Linked DNA regions of Homo sapiens: regions 2 and 3 are each linked to region 1. Evidence: promoter capture Hi-C in human tissues and cell types (Jung and others, 2019). All regions are on one chromosome and are shown on one strand. The core of a region is centred on a gene start or on the middle of the fragment in contact, and the rest is flanking DNA. Distances in the headings are between cores, read along the strand shown. Region 1 holds the start of ARG1 (arginase 1). Region 2 overlaps MED23 (mediator complex subunit 23). Region 3 overlaps MED23 (mediator complex subunit 23).

What was found. Contacts are between HindIII fragments. The study calls those that stand out against the background at their distance.
Region 2: a fragment that was not itself captured here is called in contact with the fragment with the promoter of ARG1 in region 1 in 1 of the 25 tissues and cell types used here (hippocampus).
Region 3: a contact is called between a fragment that was not itself captured here and the fragment with the promoter of ARG1 in region 1, in 4 of the 25 tissues and cell types used here (H1 embryonic stem cells, dorsolateral prefrontal cortex, hippocampus and 1 more).

The regions. Positions count from the first base shown.
Region 1 is chr6:131,570,923-131,575,464 of GRCh38, reverse strand. It overlaps ARG1 (arginase 1), which reads right to left and starts at 2,239. Exons shown (of 8, transcript NM_000045.4): 1 at 2,126-2,239. The coding sequence starts at 2,182. It also overlaps a transcript of MED23 not described here. RefSeq lists an enhancer at 2,272-2,773. The HindIII fragment of the contact is 11,485 bases long and covers 1-4,542 here.
Region 2 is chr6:131,603,639-131,608,049 of GRCh38, reverse strand. MED23 (mediator complex subunit 23) reads left to right here. Exons shown (of 29, transcript NM_004830.4): 12 at 1-122; 13 at 1,426-1,571; 14 at 2,565-2,810; 15 at 3,730-3,872. Among named protein-coding and RNA genes, the nearest start is that of MED23, 22 kb to the left of the region's middle. The HindIII fragment of the contact is 4,751 bases long and covers 1-3,625 here.
Region 3 is chr6:131,621,599-131,626,352 of GRCh38, reverse strand. It overlaps MED23 (mediator complex subunit 23), which reads left to right. Exons shown (of 29, transcript NM_004830.4): 4 at 1,364-1,488; 5 at 2,891-3,002; 6 at 4,374-4,472. Among named protein-coding and RNA genes, the nearest start is that of MED23, 4.3 kb to the left of the region's middle. The HindIII fragment of the contact is 5,524 bases long and covers 1-4,754 here.

The DNA.
Region 1 (4,542 bases), core at 990-3,489:
CTTTTTGCTTGACACACCTGCCTCTCCCCAATCAAGTAAACATGATTTCTCCTTCTTTCAACCCCAATAGGGTGCTGCTTGGTTCATGTTTTGCCTTTAGTTTTGTGTCTGTTTTTGTCTTTTCCTCATTGTTAGATTTCAGTCCAGCTTGCTTTACATGTGGGGCACTATATTTTGTAGTGTAGAGCTGACATATAGTAGATACTCAATACTCAGTTTGATAAAACTCCTTGGCTTTTTTACCCTTCTCCCTTTCATATTTTAGAACAAAGCTCATAGACCCCTTAGTTGACACTATATTTGCTATAACACAGCCATTAAATTTTCTAGAATTCTTTTTTATTTGTTTTATTCAAATGGCTTCTCATGATTGGGCTTTCCTCTTGCTTGCTCTATCTGCCCACTTTGGAAATTGCTTTGTCAGCTCCACCGACTTTCTAAGCTGGGCCCAATCCCTAAATGGCCACAAGTATAAGGTCGCCTTTGGAGTTGAATAGTCTGAAGAGACATCAGTGCAAATCAAGGGCATAGGCATTGGAATCAGATTATCTTGTCTGGAATTATGCAGTCAAGGCTGTGTGACGTTGAGCACATTACCAAACCTCTCTGGGCTTTTTTTTAACCCAACTGTAAGGTAAAAATAATACCTACCTTATTGTTTGTTCGCTGCCTTGCAAGCCTTTCAAGGAGGTGAGACAGGGATGAAGCCCTTTCTCAGACTCAACATTTTAGTCATCTGCCCTCTAATCCTTTCCTTTTGCTTATTTGTCAAACTTGTACCTCCTTTAGGTGAGGACAAATACTTATATGTTGGCCATTTTATCCTCTCTACTCTATGACTTAGTGTAAAAAATCTCTCTCTCTTAGTCCTTACAATCATGAGACAATGAACTCCATTCTCATGACCATGTTTTAATGGGAGGAGGGTGGTAGAAGGAGGACACTTGCTTCCCTTTTGTGAGGTTTTTAAATTATATATTTATTATAACCTGTTCAAGAGTGGGTGAGAACAGTGTGGATTTTAAAAGGAACATTTCTGTGTCAGCAAAATGTCCCTGTGTTTGGGAGAGACTTTTGGAGGATTTCCAGGGGAAGCAAAGTAGTATTTACTGACAGTCCAAATGCAGTTTGGGCCTCTAACCTCTGGCCTCTCTCAATTTGTTTTGCAGTAAAAAGTCAGAGTACACAGCAAGGGTTCCAAATTAAGAGGAAGCAAAACGCTGCCCAGATCCTGAGAAACCTGGAGAAAATCAACCTTAGTAGTTTCAACTCATACATTGTCTTGTTTGATTTTGTTCTTTGTTTTTTATCCTCTTTAAGCACAGATGCGTGTTGAAGTCTAAGGTGTTCTGTCATCACACTCTCTTTACTAGAATAAGTGTGCCCAGGCAGAAAAAAAAGTGTATTCAATGTTGCTGGCATGTGTGGATTCACAGCTCGTGGCTGTAAGGAAATCTGGGGGTTTCATAAATCCATTAAAATCCTTTTAGAGTTGCCAACCCGCAGTAGGATTTTCTTTCTTTTTTTGTTCTTTTTTTCCCCTTCCAAGTGAGGCACATAAAGGATTCTACCTAGTCCATGAATGAACAGTTTCATAGAAACATTAAAACCCTAACATAACATGAATTATTCACAAAGTTGCATGAAACAATAATATTTAGGTTATCCAAATTATAAGAAGCCTGAAGGTTACCACCAAACTATTAAATTTTTCTAGGCATTAATTACATAACTAAACAAATGTATTTCTTAAAATTCTCTCTTCCTCTACATACACACAGTAACATCAAAAACAACAAGAGCAACTAAACCTCAATGAGTAGCTACAATGCAGAAAGAGTCCATTTCAATTCAAAGAAAAATATTTTCTCCTAAAAAATATGAGAAAACATTCTGTAGGTTCAAATGAATTTAGCCTTGGCTGAGATCACGAGCCACAAAAGTAAGTGGATATGTGACTATAATTATACAATGTTGGAAAATGGTGAGAGGACTTTAAAATATGCATTTCCTGGCCAGATTGTATCAGAAAACTGAACTAACTAGACAATAACACCTTACAAATTTTGAAGTCCAAAATTTTCAACTAAATTCCAGGAATTCAAAGAAAGACTTTTTTCCTTACCTGTCCCTTTGAGAAAGGAGCTCCAATAATCCCTATGGTTCTGGACTTGGCGCTCATGCTCTGACACTTCTCTTTGCTGCACTTGAGCTCTCCAGTCAGTCAACCCTCAGTGACAGAGGGCGCATCTTTTTTTTCCATTTATACTTGGGTTGAATAAACAACCTTTATCTAATGAGGACAGCTGGCTCCACCCACTAAACCAAAGAATGACAGTCAACAGTCTTGCAATTTTTCATACATGGAGTAACTATATGGTTACTCCATGTATGAAGTAACTATATGGGGTTACTTCATACATGGAGTAACCTAACTCTGAGTCTAGGTCTCTAATCAAGTGACAATTATTCATGTTCTCACTTCACACCCTTTTAAAAAGCCAGCCAGATGACATTAACCTGACTTCAACAACTGACAAGTTTCACAACTACAGAAGAAGTCCTATTGTTCTGGCTCAGCGAACTCAGGGCAAGGCCCTTTCCTCCTCCAGATCTCTGAAGACGTCCTTGTAGAAGAAGGGCCGGGCTTGGCAAGATCGTCTGTCACATCCCTTCCAGCCCTAAAATCCTGAGTTGAGATTTCACACATGAGGGTAAATGGTTAATCCATGAGACACATTTCATAAACTTTTAGGGTATAATATAATAAAGAGTATATAACTTCCTTTTTTGATGATTACTTTAAAAAATTAGTTACTTGATTGGTAACCCAGAGAGGTTACCATTTTTGAAGTATGGTGTACAGGAAAATAATTGTAGAATCATATCATAATCAAAGTATAGAAATAAAAATAGCTAACATTGAGTTTTTACCATGTGTCCGATGCAGTTCTGTTTCAAAATACCATATTTATATTTATACCAATTTTATGTGAAGTCTCATCATTGGTGCCATTATACTGATGAATAAACTGAAGCTCAGACCCGTTGCCAACATAGGCTGTAGAAGAAAAGTCGGGATTTAGTCTCTGCCATTCTGAATCCACTTAACCGTCGAGCTTATAGTCTAAATGCTGGGAAGGTGTCAACCTCTATGCCCCTGAGCTACCATTTGTCACCATACAAAAGTATGAATTTAAAATAAAGGCACCTTAAAGATCCTTCCGACTTTAAAATTATGTAATTGTAATTTAAAGGGAAAATTCACTTAGTAGAAACTAATTTCTTTTTCCTATTGGTGGGAAAGAACATTTTGGAATTTAAATTCCATGAGGTCAGAGAATTTTGTCTGCTGTATCCCCAGGGCCTAGAAGAGTGTTGGTGTATAATAGGCACTCAATAAATATTTATTGAATGGATAAATGAGGAAACCAAAGTCTCATGGGTCCATTTTGATAGGACTGTTTTCCAAATAGGTTTCCTACCTTTTTCTTGTGGGTTTGCTTGTATATCCTAAATATTTACTTGTGGTATTCCTCATATTGCCTAGATATTAACCTTATAGCATTGACATTGCAAATAACTTTTCCCAACCTGTCAGAAATCTGATAACTTTTTATATGTTATCACTCAAAATCCTCAATTTTAAAATAGACACTTGTATAATTTCCCCCGAATGCTTTGTGCTTTGGAAGTCTTATTAAATTCCTGCCACCCCATCAAATTGTAGGTATGTAGTTTTACATTTTCTTCCATTTGCCTTAGAGCTTATCTTTCTCACTTAGTTCCTGAATCCATCTTTGTATGTTATGTAAATTTTCCAACTCGTTTTTCCTCTATCATTCATGCATCAGTTTCCTCAACAACACCCATTGAATAGTCATTCATTTTGCAATTGATTGGAGTGCTGTCTGTCACTAAACTCTTTCTTCTGTTCCATTGACTTATTTACCTATGGCTGCACCAGATCCATCAGGTTTTATCAATACAGTTTTGCGGTACATCTTATCATTGTTTAGGCAAGAGTAACTGTTTTGCTCTTCTTTTTCAAAATTGATTTACCTTTTATGGGTCTCTATTCTCCTATAGTTGGAATAACCTAATTCCTTAAAAGTATTTGCTAGAATTTTTACTAGATTTATAAATCAATCCATGGAGATTTGCTAACTTTCAAATTTGATTGCTAGAATTTTTTCTTTGAAAAATTCACATCCTGAAAGTTCTTTGTATGCCAAGCTGAGATTGCCTTCCTGTCATATGAACCATTGGTCACCACCCTTTAATCCAAGTAAAGCACATTATCTCTTGGCTGTCATGTCTTTCTTGGATTTCTATTGTTTAGGCTGAATATTCCCAAATACCTCACTAATTTCTTGTGTTACATAGTTGCCACTTTCCTTCAGGTCACCAACTTGGTCGCTGTCTTCAAAACATCTCGCTTCCCTCTGCCTTTCCTAAATAGGGCATCCAGAACAAAATGCACATATCCAAATACAGGTGGAGTTATCTGGTCCATCAGACACAAATTTGATAACATTTGAC
Region 2 (4,411 bases), core at 1-2,500, 34 kb before region 1:
AAGGCAGAGATCATCTTATGTGGGTTCTCCTGCAATTCATTTCTGGAAGTATTCAGAAAAATGCACTAGCTGATTTTCTCCCTGTGATGAAGCTCTTCGACTTGCTATACCCAGAAAAAGAAGTAAGCTTTACTGAGTAACTATTCATAACAACATGATGAGTAAATTATGTCTAATTTATGTTTAAGGATTTTAGTGTGATTTTGTGTATTTCTAAAGTTTATGCTAAATCACAATTGAATGTTAAGTGTAGCAAGCTCTTTCTCTACATTCTAGGTAGGTCTACAGTTTTACAAATCACTAAAGCTGTTTTAATCTATATACATCATTGAATGGCCAGATAACAGTCTTTATTAATAGCTATTTTTTCTTTGACAGTTGAGCCTCAGTATGTCCCCTGGGTATTTTATCATATAAGATATTTGAGTAAAATGTGATGTATTTTGATGATTGCCATTTTCTAGAAGTACTTTATCATGAATTGTTGTTGTTGTTGTTGTTGTTGTTAAGGAGTTTCACTGTTGTCACCCAGGCTGGAGTGCAGTGGCGTGATCTCAGCTCACTGCAACCTCCACCTCCTGGGTTGAAGCAATTCTCCTGCCTCAGCCTCCCGAGTAGCTGAGATTACATGCACATGCCAACATGCCCGACTAATTTTTGTATTTTTGGTAGAGACAGGGTTTCGCCGTGTTGGCCAGGCTGGTCTTGAACTCCTGACCTTAGGTGATCTGCCCAGAAAATTTTAAGATGAAACAAGAGTATTTCTTGATGATGGGTATAACATGATGGGGTTACTGTAACCCCACCATGCACTAGCTGTAACCCCACCATGCACTAGCTGTAACCCCACCATGTTATACCCATCATCAAGAAATACTCTTGTTTCATCTTTCCTCCTTATTTTTTTTGTTAATGTTGGACAATTTTCAAGCAAATCCCAGACATCCATATCATTTTACCCATTAATAGTCAATATGTTTAAATGTAATTATTTAGGTTGCGTATTTCTTAGATTTTTATCTGTTCTTAAAAATTATTATGAGACTTTTAGAAAGTCTTGTTTTTAGTTACATTTGTCACTTTAGTAAGATTTCATGATGATGTGTTTTAATTTTTTAAAAGTAAAAATTAAAAATTTATTTTTATTTGAGAATGCTCTGCGATAGTAGGAAAAGCTTGACCAAGCACCTGTGAATATGTGTTACTTAAAGCAAGTAAAAACATATACCAAATAAAGCATCTTGTAATAATTTCAAAATTTTATGGCTGTTAGACCTTCTGATTTGTATTATTGAATTATCGGGGCTAAAGTAAGACATGATATGCTAAAAAGAGTTATATTAGAAATTGATTACTAAAATACACATAATTATTTAATTCTTCTCTTTCTTCTATTGTGTTATTTTTCAAATTGTTATTTTTCAGTATATCCCAGTTCCTGATATTAACAAACCCCAGTCAACCCATGCCTTTGCAATGACCTGTATTTGGATTCATCTCAATAGAAAAGCTCAAAATGACAACTCCAAGCTACAGATTCCAATACCTCATTCCCTAAGACTTCACCATGAGTAAGTTATTTGTTGCTTGATACTTAATTTTCTTGTTTAATTAATAGCGGATTGTAGACTAATATTGGTCTCGGTGTTTGTGTGAAATTTGGAAATCTCCGCATACCCACTATAGGTAAGGGCAAATACTTGATGTATATGTCATAGCAGGAGAATCTGACCAGTACCTATATCAGGAAACAGCTACAAGGTTAGTCTTGCTTATATGTATAGATTTTTTTTTTTAATTTTTAAGGCTGATCTTCAGTTGTATATGTTATACTTTAAAGTTATTAATATAATGAAAGCATATCAATTTTTATAAATGTAAAAATGTTTCAGAATTTCCCAAGTGCTTGGAACTTCAGCATAAGCTGACTGAGATATCATTCATCTCTGGGCTGCCAGGATTGATTGAGCTGATCTGGCTGGCATGCCCCTTAATATCTCTTCCAAAGTTGTGATGACTCAATGAAGATACCATTCTTAGATAGTATTGTATTGTAGTCAAGGGTGCTAGGAGTAGCCTAACTTCCCACCTAGAACTTCTGAGAAGGACTGCCACTTCTCTTCACAGGAGATGGCAGGATTGTCAGACTTGATACTTCATTTGGTTTTCATTTTATGAGACAGCCCTTAACCACCTTTTCATAGTGGTATCTGTAATGAAGACATTGTTGTGTTTATACAGACAGATAATAAATAGAAACCTGGTTCATAGACTTGTGAGTTATTTCTTCATTCTCTGAAACTTAGCCTAATATGGTGGTCATATATGTAGTGCATACTTAACAGTACCCATTAATTGTTTATTTAAAATTATTTTTCTTCTGAAATGCTACTCAAACTTCTATGTGTATTCCCACTGTACATTTCACACAGAAACTATAATACCTATAGGAACAAAGATAGCATTAATAAATAATTGCATAAAATTGAACTTTTAAAAAAATACAAATTAACATTATGGAAGTTATTTTCATTTTTTCTTTTTAATGGAACGTGAATATTTAGGTTCCTGCAGCAGAGTCTAAGAAATAAAAGTTTACAGATGAATGACTATAAGATTGCTCTATTGTGTAATGCATACTCTACAAATTCAGAATGTTTTACATTACCCATGGGAGCTCTGGTAGAAACTATTTATGGAAATGGAATTATGAGGATACCTCTCCCTGGAACAAACTGTATGGCTTCAGGATCTATTACCCCCTTACCTATGAACCTCCTGGATTCACTGACAGTTCATGCCAAAATGAGGTATGTTCTTTTTATTAATTTGGTTCCATGTCAGGGAATTGATACGAGTATAGTATAAACCTTTATTTCATGATTTTATGTGCGTATTATTTCATAGTCAGGTACATTTGAGAAAAAAAAGTTAGCTTTATTTTATTACAAAAGTAAATATTTTTTATTATAGGAATTCTAGGATAAACAAACCCAAAGAAAGTAATTGTTGTAATCTCTACATGAGAGATAAGCATTATAAAAATTTTTTGCACATTTTTTTTCATTTTTTATAGATAGTTAAGAATGAGGACTAGTGTAGCTAGAGCTTCCAACATTTTTGGAAAGGGCTAGAAATCCAGATTTTTTATTAGTAGTCTTTCAGCTTTTAAGTATTGGCTCAAATTTGAAACAACCACTGTATAGGCCAAAGAGAATTTGTCTGTGGGCCTCCAAGTGGAGCATCAGTCCTGGTAGAGCTATGCTCTTTTTCAAATGGTAACCATTGTGATAGAATTACACATGTGCTTCACTTGCATATATAACAGATTTGAGCAAAGCCCCATTAGAACGTAACATTTGGGTCTTAGCAGTGATTTATTAAAGTAAATCTGTGACAAAAGTTATTTAATTTCCCAAATGTATTTTGATGCATCATTTGAGTGACCAAAATCCCTCAAGCATGCTCTTATGAGTTGAATCCAAAGTTTGTTTTTCCATGAGCAGGGGGATCCGTATGCATATTGAAAGCGCCACAGAAACGGAATGAGTCTCAGATTGTGCAGTGCATCCTTACCAAGTGTCCTGCACAGCTTAAACACATTAAATGAATCAACTTCATTTGAATCATTTAAGTTCAGATTTATACTAAGTTACTTCTAAGTAGAGTAGCCCCTATGTTTATGTCAAAAATATGGATTTTTATTTTCTTCCCTTTTTTTCTCCTCAGCCTTATTCACAGCATTGCAACCAGGGTGATAAAACTTGCTCATGCAAAGTCCAGTGTGGCCTTGGCTCCAGCCCTAGTGGAAACTTACAGTCGTTTATTGGTCTATATGGAAATAGAGTCTTTGGGCATCAAAGGATTTATCAGTAAGACAGGACTTTCTGGTGTTTATAACTATTAACCCATTCATTAACTCTAAAGTTACTTTTCTAGGTCCTGGGGACACAGCAGAGAACAAGTCACCACCATGATGGAGCTTATGGAGGAGGACATTAAATAAATGAAATATACAATATGTCAGATGATACATGTTATAGAGAAAAATAAAGCAAAAAGGAATAGGAAGTGTGAGGGTTGGGGGGTTTGTTGCATTTTTAAGTAAAGTGGTAAGAAAAGGTTAATGTGCTAGGTGCCTGGGATGCAGTGAGCAGGATAGACCTGGTCCCTGTCCTCATGCAAATGGATTCTGCCTGAGGCAGCAATGCTGTCCTCCAGTGCATACGAAGTCTGACTGGAAATAAAGAAGGAATTTTCCTACCTTGCAGAAGATACATTATAATGTCTCATTTATTATATAGTTCTAAAATAATAGATACTTTCTGATATAGAAGTGTTTTTCTGATTCATGGTAATTCCAGCTTTTCACGAATACAGCATAGTCTTAATTTTAACCACAATAACTCTT
Region 3 (4,754 bases), core at 1,428-3,927, 50 kb before region 1:
TGTCTTCTAAGTTTCTTCTTACTTTTTCTAATTTAACCAATGCTGTGATGAATAATATTATGCATGAAAAATAGGATAAATTCCTAGAAATAGTATTGCTGAGTCAAAAGCCTTATCAGTTTGTAATTTTTATAGAAATTATTAAATTTTCCATAAGGGTTATACTAGTTTATGCTTCCACCAGCAGTGTTTGAGATTATCTTTTTCTTTTCTTTTTTTTTTTTTTTTTTGGAGACAGAGTCTCACTCTGTCGCCCAGGCTAGAGTGCAGTGGCGTGATCTTGGCTCACTGCAACCTCTGCCTCTCGGGTTCACGCCGTTCTCCTGCCTCAGCCTCCCGAGTAGCTGGGACTACAGGCACCTGCTATCACGCCCGGCTCATTTTTTGTATTTTTAGTAGAGACGGGGTTTCATCGTGTTAGCCAGGTTGGTCTCGATCTCCCGACCTCATGATCTGCCCACCTCGGCCTCCCAAAGTGCTGGGATTACAGGCATGAGCCACCGCGCCCGGCTGAGAGTATCTTTTTCTTATAACCTCACAATAGAGTGTTAAGCTTTTTGATCTTTGCCAATCAAAAACATGAGAAATTTTATCTCAGTATAATTTTATTTTGCATTTCTCTCAGTGATGTTGAATATCTTTCCAAAATTTAAAAAAAAATTCATTAAACACTTTATGAATTATGATGTGGCCCTCTAATGGAGAGACCAGGAAGAAAATAGGTATTTCCAAATCATTGTTATATGTGCCACAATAGAAGTATGTATGAGAACAGTGGTTGTGGAGAGAAGCAGAACATTATAGGCTCTTTTTGGAGATAATCCTAGAAGACAAACTTTGATACGGGCACAACATTTTGACATCGTATTTAAAGTTTTGCCAGTCTAGAAATGTGACATGTCATTGGATTCATAATGGGCTCTTGTTTGGGATCTTAGGGATTGGATTCACACCTAATTCTCCTAAGCCTGATACATACTGATCCATAATGAATTTTACCCCCAGTGACAGTAATATTTATATATGCCATAAAGGGCACTGTTTACAATGCCTTACAACAATCTGTGTTAAGAGTTTTCTATTGACCGTTAATATGTTAACTAATTAATTACTACTTTTGAAGTTCCCATGTAATAAAAATGGTAGCATTTTATCTATGTAATTACAAAATGTTAAGCTTAATGTGACAAATACTAAATCTGAATTTTTTAATTTTGCTTTTTTTAAAAATTATTTTCATCCACAGATGCTCATAGTGAAGTATTTCTTTCATAGTATTGGTATACTTCCAGTTGTAGTATTAGCTATTGGTTATAAAAATGTAACTTTAGACCCCAAGTAAAATCATTCTCTCATTTTCCAGGAGTCTCATGAACAGTGTATCCAGTGGATTGTTAAGTTTATTCATGGTCAGCATAGTCCTAAAAGAATTTCTTTTCTTTATGACTGCTTAGCAATGGCAGTTGAGACTGGTCTCCTTCCACCCAGGTACGTTTAATGGGTATGAGCAATCTGAAGAATTTTCTTTTCTATATGTGATTGGAAATTGGTTGAGGTTGTTGTTGTAAAAAGGTAAGAGAATGAAGAAGAAGGTGAGGTTTATCAAGTAATCCTTTATATAATACCTCAGGTTTTAGTTTCTAGGAGTAATAGTCTTTGAATTAGGTAATGCTTGTGGGCTCAAAACCAGATGTTTCTGCCCAGGGGCTGAAATTAATCACTTTAATTAGTTTGTAACCCTTTACTTTTGCTGCACAACCTCAACACCTTATGGCTTAAAACAGTAATACTCAGGTTTTAAAATTATTCATGGTTTTAGTGGTTGACTCGGCTTAGGAGACACTTTTTACTCAAGGTCATAATGATTGTGATCAATGTGGCTAGGGCTGGAGCATGGCAAAAGCTTCCCCACTCAGATATCTGGTGGTTGATTCCTGGCTGTCATCTGGAACCTCAGCTGGGATTATTAGCCAGAACCTCCGCAGGCCCTCACCTTGTGGCCTAGACTTTCTCACCTCATGGTGGAGCCTAACAGCAAGTGTGCAAAAGAGGGCTAGGCAGAAATTGTATCACCTTGTCTTCTTGGAAGTCATACTGCATCCTTTTGGCCATAGTCTTAGGTCTGCCCAGATCTAAGGAGTGAGAACGTAGACTTTCCCCCTACCTCTCCTTGGGAGAAATGTCAGTGTCACATTTCAGAAGAAGATGTGGGATCAAAAATCTTGTTGCCATCCTGTTGGAAAAATCCAGTGTACCACAAGGTGATAGATGGTAAACATCTAACCGAAAGCTTTAGATAGACTTCTTTCTAGTAAAATATAACATAATGAATATTATTTCATTCTTACTTTGTTTTTGATCTTTCATACAAGTAAAAAATGTAAAATACTACACAGATTTATAAGTGTGCTTAGTAATCACTTTTATGAAAGACACTTGTGAGGATAAATATAATACAGTGCACAGACTATGGCTGTATTAGTCTGTCTGATGCTGCTAACAAAGATATACCCGAGACTGGGTAACTTATAAAGGAAAGAGGTTTAATTGACTCACAGTTTGGCATGGCTAGGGAGGCCTCAGGAAACTTAGAATAATGGCAAAAGGCACCTCATCACAGGGTGGTGGGAGAGAGAATGAGTGCCCAGTGAAGGGGGAATCCCCATATAAAACCATTAGATCTTGTGAGAACTAACTCACTATCATGAGAACAGTATTGGGGGAACTGTCCCTCATGATTTAAATGGTTTTTCTCATGACACGTGGGGATTATGGGAACTACAATTCAAGATGAGATTTGTGTGAGTACACAGCCAAACCATATTGGCGGCTATTAGAGAACTTGGAAAATTCTGTCTTGTAACTGGAATGGCTATTTCTTTTTTTATAGGCTGGTTTGTGAATCCCTGATAAACTCTGACACTCTTGAGTGGGAAAGAACACAGCTTTGGGCCTTAACATTTAAACTGGTTCGGAAAATAATTGGGGGAGTGGATTACAAGGTATATTTTTCTTATTATAAAAAGTGATTGCTTTCAGATATGATTGATTTTTCGGTGTGCATGTCTTATTTTCAGGTGAGAGAAATGATGTGGAAGCATTTACAAAATCTGTCTATTTCTTGTGGTATATTTCCTGAAAAGATTTAAAGTTACTCAGTTGTTTCCCTGGCTCCGCTACTCCCCTCCCAACATTCTTATAAATACAGGTAGCTGATACATTTTTATGAAGAGCAGGGAAGTCACAAAGCAGAATCCGTGTTCCTTCATGCTGCAAGTATTATGATCCCTTCAAATGAAAGCACAGAGCAGGGGTGTGTGGAACTGAGAAGGGATGTAGGCATCACTGATGAAGGGAGCAAGACCTGGCTTCACTTCTCTTGAACGTGGGTCTTACCTCAATTAATATCTTCAGCACTTTGGGCTCTTGACCAAAAACAACATACACTTTCTAGTTTTGTCTCATAAAACGGCTTAGGGACTCCATAGCTACAAAAGCCATTCTGCATCTTCAGGAGACTTTTGTTATTGTCCTTTTCCCGGGAATTACCAGTGTCTGACCCTGTGCTTTATTTCTGCATTTTCTCTAATCTGAAATGATTTAACAGGTAATGACCTAACAGATAATTATTAGTTTAAATCATGATTTATCACACAGTTAACTCTAAGAAGCTTTTGCTAATTATTTTCTCTTTACTCAGACTTATGCAATTTTCTTATTTGTATGATACTTCATAATTGTTCTTTTAGGTATATGTTCTGTCTTTTACAAGCTTGGTTACGTAGTTCATAGTCAATAAATAAATGTTGAATGAAATTTCTTCTTTATATATCAGATAATGTAACTGGTATTGGATATGTGGAAATGATTAACAGAATAGCCTTGGATATCCTTGAGAGATTAAGGTATGTGATGGATGAGAAGGGAGAATAGGCCAGTCACAGTGGCTTACACCTATAATCCCAGCACAAAAGGGAGTGAGCAGAAACAGTCCTCTACCAAAAAGTTTGATATTGTTACTCAAGTTTTCAGAGTGCATTGAAGTCTTGTTACAATATATTTCTGTCTATATGTATAATTAAGGTTTTTGACCCTTGTAACAACGTAAACCCTTCTAATGTTATGAGGGCCAAAAAAGCTTGACAAACTGTATAATGACTTTCTTTGCTCATTGTATTTTAAGACAGTCTTTAGAACTCTGTTTTGGAACATGACTCTTCTGTTGGGTTAATGTTAGGGACTTAGATTGTAACTGATTCAGAAAATTTAAAGGTGTGACCTTGAAGGAATATATCACCCTGAAACCTTCGGACGTTTTAGCTAACACAGTAGACACTACTTAATTTTAACCCATGTCTTTTTTCTTATATCAGGGTGTTCGAGATCTCTTAAAAGTGATTTTGGAGAAGATTTTGACAATTCCTAATACAGTGAGCTCTGCTGTTGTACAGCAGCTTCTGGCAGCAAGAGAGGTAATTTAGACATGTCTGAAATTCGTGATCATAACCTCAAAAAAGTCTAGCTTTGTTTAGGTCTGTGCTTTTAATACTTACGGTATTTTGTGAGATGCTCTATTTCTTCTACCAAAAAAAAATCACTTCTATTTTAAAAGATGCTAGTTCCCTTATATTTCAAAAGGACATTTTAAATTTTAATTCATGGTTTTAAATTATGAAAACAATGAAATAGAAATTAAAATAGCTTAAACATTACAAGACCTTAGCATATGGACCACTTAAAAGATCTTTGTACTT